2 separate regions of the Homo sapiens genome follow, and region 2 is linked to region 1. Evidence: promoter capture Hi-C in human tissues and cell types (Jung and others, 2019). All regions are on one chromosome and are shown on one strand. The core of a region is centred on a gene start or on the middle of the fragment in contact, and the rest is flanking DNA. Distances in the headings are between cores, read along the strand shown. Region 1 holds the start of ZNF552 (zinc finger protein 552). Region 2 overlaps ZNF544 (zinc finger protein 544).

Region 1 (3,258 bases), core at 467-2,966:
AACCCACCAGAAGGAAGAAACTCTAGACACATCTGAACACCTGAAGGAACAAACTCCAGACATACCATCTTTAAGAACTTTAACACTGCCCGTGAGGGTCTGCGGCTTCATTCTTGAAGTCAGCGAGACCAAGAACCCACCGGAAGGAACCAATTCTGGACACAATACCTTTCAAACAAGGGACCTGTCCAGGCTTCCTTCTGATGACCAACCCACCTCTAATGCTGGCCAGTCTATTTCACACAAAGTTCTAAGTTTTCCTGGTGTCATAGTAACACTGTAATCTCCCTTAAATCCTTTCTTGAAATGTTTCAACATAGTTCCTAGTGAAGTGGGCTTACTTTGTGCCTGACCCATGCTTCTTTGAGACAAAACACCACGCTCACACCACACGCACACCACAAAACAAAGAACAGGTAAAAAGGGCACACATACACTTTTACCGTTTACACCAAACCAGAATCAAAATCCAAATCAGAGTATCCAGAAATCCAAGCCAGGTCAAAACCAAAACGAAAGTATCAAGCAATCCAAATCAAGTCAAAAACAAAAACCAAAGTGCCGGTACAGGCATGCCGTGGGTGATCAGGCCACCCTTCCACTCAAATGGAGTGGGCAAGTTCCAAAGACTAGTCTTACCAAGTTTCAGATGTCCGGACTCCAAGTGCCTGTTCCTTCCCAGTGTTCAGCCGCTGCATTGATCCTCTGTGGGGGCCTGCCACACGCCACTCTGGCGAGGTGTTCCACTGGGGCAATTGCCTACCCGGGAGTGCTCTCAGGTTCTGCGTCCCTCAAGCTGGCCAGAGTCCCCTGTAGGGATGCTCCACAGGGCAGGCCTAAGCTGCCTAAGGGGCTGCCTCGACTATCTGTTAATCACCTGGCTTCCCAGTCAGGGAACCAAGAAATGTAGCAGGACAAGCCGCAGGGCTGTATTCAGCCTGGAGCTTTGGCAAGACTCACATCTCCAACTACCAAGCTCCCCAAGTGAGGAATTCCTGTCCCTTTTAAGGGCTTACAACTCTAAGGGGGTCCACATGAGAGGTTTGTGATCGATTGAGCAAGCAGGGGGTACACGACTGGGGGCTGCATGCAGTGGTAATCAGAACGGAACAGAACAGGACAGGGATTTTCACAATGCTTTTCCATACAATGTCTGGAATCCATAGATAACATAACCGGTTTGGTCAGGGGTCGATCTTTAACCAGGCCCAGGGTTGGCACCTGGCTGTCTGCCTGTGGATTTCATTTCTGCCTTTTAGTTTTTACTTGTTTCTTTGGAGGCAGAAATTGGGCATAAAACAATATGAGAGGTGGTCTCCTCCCTTAACAGCACAAACGCTTAATTAACATTTCTTTTTCTTTTGAGACAGGTTCTGTCGCCCAGGCTGGAGTGCAGTGGTGCAGTCATAGCTCAGTGCAGCCTGGACCACCTGGGCTCAAGCAGTCCTGACACCTCAGCCTCTCAAAATTTGGGATTACAGGCGCGCGCCACCGTGCGGGTCAGGAGGCTTCCCTGAGGGCCCCGGAGGTGGAGCTGGGCTTTTCCTTCCGAAGCGCCCCTGGGAATCTCTCTCTTTACGGCCTTGGAACCTGGGAAACTACATTACCCAGAAAGCTCTGCGTCAAATGACAGCACGGCAGAGCCAGTGAGAGTTCACATTGAAGGCGTTTCCGTGTGCGCAAGTAAGGTAGAGGCGGGACTCCCGGCGCCCTTTAGTAGCGACCATTTCCATTGGCGTTAGGGAGTCCTTGGAGCGCTGTGTTGGGACCGTGGTGGTGACTGGATCCAGGAGGTCGAGAGTCGTTCTTCTCTTTGCACAGACGTGACTCTGCAGCTCTTTAACGGCGCCCGCTGCTCTCAACCCAGCTTACCCCACGTGGTCCCATGGCGGCGGCCGCGCTAAGGTTCCCCGTTCAGGTAATTGTGGCGCCTTCCGTGCTCTCCGGTCACCTCCTAGTCACACAAGTCCTAAAGCAGCGAGGGAGCGGCACCTGTTTACGGCTCTGCAACCCGGACCCGGCGTCGGGACACTGAGGCGCTCTCGGGAGGGATCCCTGTTTCAGACACCCGTGGGATGCGGTGGGGAGAGCGACAGGTACAGGGAGGGGCGCGGGCAATGGCCTGGAGATGGACGGATCCGGGAGGATGGAACCTGGGGTCCACAGGCGCCTGTAGGGAACAACCTGTGAGGCGGAACTCCTCCTGGAAAAGCAAGGAGGCTGGGGGCTGTGAAATCATTGCGAGGACACTAGAAATAGGAGAATTTCCAAGAAAGAAGGGACTGGATCAAAGTCCAGGCTTTTAAAGTTTCCTAAAGGCCAAATAAATAACAGAGTAGAGAGGGGATGACGTTGGGGCCCTTTGAGATTGAATCCTTGTAGATCATATAGGTGGTAGAGATGACACTTTGTGCTGAGACACGCAGGTTAGACAATAGTCCAAGGTCACCTGGCTCCGTGGACACAAAAGCGTTCAGGGAGGCCTGAGCTTACCAGATCCTATCAGGGACACAGTCCTGTAAAGTCAGCCTCTTCCCTCAGGCCTTTATGGCTGTAGAAGCATTTAAGGAACGCATACAAGAAAGTGGAGGGTGGGGCCGGGTGCAGTGGCTCACTCCTGTAATCCCAGCACTTTGGGAGGCCTAGGCGGGTTGGTCCGGAGGTAGAGACCAGCCTGACCAACCATGGAGAAACCCTGTCTCTACTAAAAATACAAAATTAGCCAGGCGTGGTGGCGCATGCCTGTAATCCCAGCTACTTGGGAAACTGAGGCAGCAGACTCGCTTGAACCCGGGAGGCGGAGGTTGCGTGAGCCGAGATCGCGCCATTGCACTCCACCCTGGGTGACAGAGCGAGACTCCGTATCAAAAAAAAAAAAAAAAAAAAAAAAAAAAGAATGAGGTGCGTTCAGAGAGGGTATCTCTGCTGTGCTGAAGGTGCCACATTGGGCTTTCCATGACCTCGGCCATACTAGGGGAAGTGCCTGTCAGGAGGGGGTGGACTCTTATATCACAGCCACCGCACAGATACCTATTTGTTCAACTAACTATTGTTGTTGGTGGCTGTACCCCATGACCAGTGGGCCTAGTTTCTCCTATGTTTGAGGACCTTGAGAGGAGGATGTGCGAGAGTAGATGTGTGGGAGAGATGGATTGTGATACCTCAGCATAGGGGTGGTTTGTGGTTTCATCTGTCAACATCATAACAGGGCACAGTGACTTTTGAAGACGTGGCTGTGAAATTTACCCAGGAGGAATG
Region 2 (3,251 bases), core at 578-3,077, 450 kb before region 1:
CCTCGCAAACTGCTGGGATTACAAGTGTTGGCAACTGCACCCGGCTCCATCTTGGTTATTCATAGAGTTTCTTGCCCATGAGCTTTCTCATGTTGAATAAGGAAAGTATCATAACTGGAAGCTTTTCCACATTTGTTAACATTCACAGGGCTTCTCTCCAGTATGAATTCTCTGCTGCCTAGTAAGTTGACACCGTTGGCTAAAGGCTTTCTCGCAATGGTCACATTCATAGGGTTTGCCTCCAGTGTGTGTCCTCTCGTGTTTACTAAGGGTTGAGCGATCATTGAAGGCTTTCCCACAATCAATGCATTCGTAGGGCTTTTCTCCAGGATATGTCCTCTGATGTTCAATGAGTCACAACCGCTGGCTTAATACACGTCACACTGATAGCTCTTCCCACCGACATGCGTCCTCTGGTGCATGATGAGGGGAGACCTCTGGATGAAAGCTTTCCCACAATGACTGCACTCCTAAGGTTTCTCTCCAGTATGTGTCCGCCGATGCACTACAAGTTGAGATTGCTGCCGGAAGGATTTCCCACAGTCACTACATTCATAGGGTTTCTCTCCAGAATGAATTCTGTGATGGGAAAGAAGGTTAGAGCTCCCTGAAAAGGCTTTCCCACACTGACTACACTCAAAAGGTTTCTCACCAGTGTGAGTTCTCTGATGCATCACAAGGTAGGAGCTCCTTGCAAAGGCTTTATTGCACTGATTGCATTTGTACGGCTTCTCCCCAGTGTGAATTTGCAGATGCCTGATGAGCTGAGTGCTTCGATTGAAGGCTTTTCCACACTCGTTACATTCATAGGGCTTTTCTCCAGTGTGAGTTCTTTTATGTGCAACTAACTGATAGCTTTGGCTGAAGGACTTTCCACAGTGAGTGCAATCGTACGGTTTCTCTCCAGTATGAATTCTCTGATGTATGACGAGGTTAGAGTTCCATCTGAAGGATTTCCCACATTCAATACACTGATACGGTTTTTCTCCAGTGTGAATTCGCTGATGCGTAATAAGTTTGGAACTCTGGGAGAAGGATTTCCCACACAGGTTGCACTCATAGGGCTTCTCTCCAGTGTGTGTCCTCTGATGTACAACAAGGTCATACTTCTGGCTGAAAGATTTCCCACACTGAGTACATTTGAAGGGTTTTTCTCCAGTGTGCGTTCTTTTATGTGTAACTAACTCATAGCTTTGGCTGAAGGACTTTCCACAGTGAGTGCACTCATACGGTTTCTCTCCAGTATGAATTCTCTGATGTACAATGAGGTTAGAGTTCCACCTGAAGGATTTTCTGCATTCAATACACTGATACGGTTTTTCTCCAGTGTGAATTCGCTGATGTGTAATAAGTTTGGATCTCTGGGTGAAGGATTTCCCACACAGGTCACACTCATAGGGCTTCTCTCCAGTGTGTGTCCTCTGATGTATGACAAGGTCATAGCTCTGGCTAAAAGATTTCCCACACTGAGTACATTCGAAGGGCTTTTCTCCAGTGTGTGTTCTCTGGTGTATGAGCTTACAACAGCTGAAAGATTTTCCACACTGATTACACACAGATGGCTTCTCTGTAGTCTGAATGATGTTACAGTCAGAAAAAGATGAGGCCATGGGGAAGGCAGCACAGCGTTCCTCACATCTGAAGGGGGTCTCTCCAGGGCCACTTCTTTCTGTTTGTACAAGGCACAGACTCTCAGAACAGGTTTCCCTGCACTCATCACACTCATACTGACTTTTCCCAAAATGCACTGGCTTCTGTTCATTCAGAGACACACTGTGACTGAAGAGGTTTCCATAATCCTTACAGTCATCACTTTTCTTCACTGAAAAAGTTCTACCATGAAAACAAAGGGAGGAACCATAGTTGAGAGAGTCACCACTGACAATATATTCATAAGGGTTTTTCTTTCCTGTTTCAACGTTTCCAAGTTTACTCAAGTAAATACTCTGACAGAAAGCTCTAGCACACTGATGACTCTCACAGTGCTTCCCATCTGCTCCATTTTTCTCATGATTAATGAAAGCTGAATTTTGTTTCAACTCTTTAACTTGTGAGTTGGGCTTAGGGAAACCTGTACTTGTAGGTAATGTTGTAGGTAGAAGGCTTAAAGTAGAAGGTAGAGAATAACCTCCCCCAAGTTCAAGCTCACAATGTTCCCTTTGAGCAAACAGTCTCTCTGAGGTGAGTACCATGAACCTCAAGGAGTTCTCCTGGTGTTCCCTTAACTGGTTGCTCTGATCTTGCACTTTTCCTAATACCAAAGAGGGTGGCTCCTCCGGTCCACTCCTGTACACTTCCACGTGGTGGGATAGTTCTTCCCTAGCTCGATCTTTTTCAGAATTCAACCTATTCTCCTCAAGGGTAGCTTTCCAGTCTGAAAGAAATCCAAAATGCCTAAGTTACTGGAGAAGCATCAGAGGGGGAGGGGGAGGGGGAGATGAAGGAGACAACTGTTTAATGGAAGTGTCTCTGGTTTGTTTCCAAACTACAAACTGTAATCCGTATGCAGGCTGTGAAAGGGAGGGATGGATCAGCAAACATGGTATCAGTGGTAAAGTGCAAAATACAAGCAAACATAATAAAGAAGTGACTAAGTAACACTAGTCCCCAAATAGAGGGCAGAAGAATAAGAATAAGCAGGGAGGGGCCAGGTGCAGTGGCTCACACCTGTAATCCCAGAACTTTGGGAGGCTGAGGCAGGTGGATCACCTGAGGTCAGGAGTTAGAGACCAGCTTGGTCAACATGGTAAAACCTCATCTCTAATAAAAATAAAAAAAAAATTAGCCAGGTGTGGTGGTGGGCGCCTGTAGTCTAAGCTCCTCGGGAGGCCGAGGCAGGAGAATCGCTTGAGCCTGGGAGGTGGAGGTTGCAGTGAACCAAGATCGGGCCACTGCATTCCAGTCTGGGTGAGAGAGTGAGACCCTGTCTCAAAAAAGAGAATAAGCAGGGAGGTGAAGATAAAAAGAGAAATCCACAGAATGAACTGGGTCTGCAGGATATAAAGCCATTAACCATTGCAAAAAGTATGTATGTTCTAAGCCCCTGGACTCTGTGAATGTGAACTTTTGGGAAAAAGGAACTGTCCAGATGTGATTAGAATTTTATTATTATTATTTACTTAGTTTTCTACAGTCAGGATCTTGCTCTGTTGAACAGACCGGATAACAGCACAATCATGGCTCACTGCAGCCTCAAACTCCTGGGCTCTTGTGATCCTCCCCGACTGGCCTCCCAAAGTGCTGGGATTACA

Evidence for each region. The method cuts DNA at HindIII sites, captures the fragments that hold promoters and counts their contacts. A contact is called where the count stands out against the background at its distance.
Region 2: a contact is called between a fragment that was not itself captured here and the fragment with the promoter of ZNF552 in region 1, in 1 of the 25 tissues and cell types used here (dorsolateral prefrontal cortex).

The regions. Positions count from the first base shown.
Region 1 is chr19:57,813,371-57,816,628 of GRCh38, reverse strand. It overlaps ZNF552 (zinc finger protein 552), which reads left to right and starts at 1,716. Exons shown (of 3, transcript NM_024762.3): 1 at 1,716-1,918; 2 at 3,209-3,258. The coding sequence starts at 1,886. RefSeq lists an enhancer at 1,392-1,441. The HindIII fragment of the contact is 37,727 bases long and covers 1-3,258 here.
Region 2 is chr19:58,259,974-58,263,224 of GRCh38, reverse strand. ZNF544 (zinc finger protein 544) reads right to left here. Exons shown (of 7, transcript NM_014480.4): 7 at 1-2,374. The coding sequence ends at 471. The region is part of intron 2 of ZNF8-DT (ZNF8 divergent transcript); the gene reads left to right. Among named protein-coding and RNA genes, the nearest start is that of ZNF8-DT, 17 kb to the left of the region's middle. The HindIII fragment of the contact is 3,084 bases long and covers 286-3,251 here.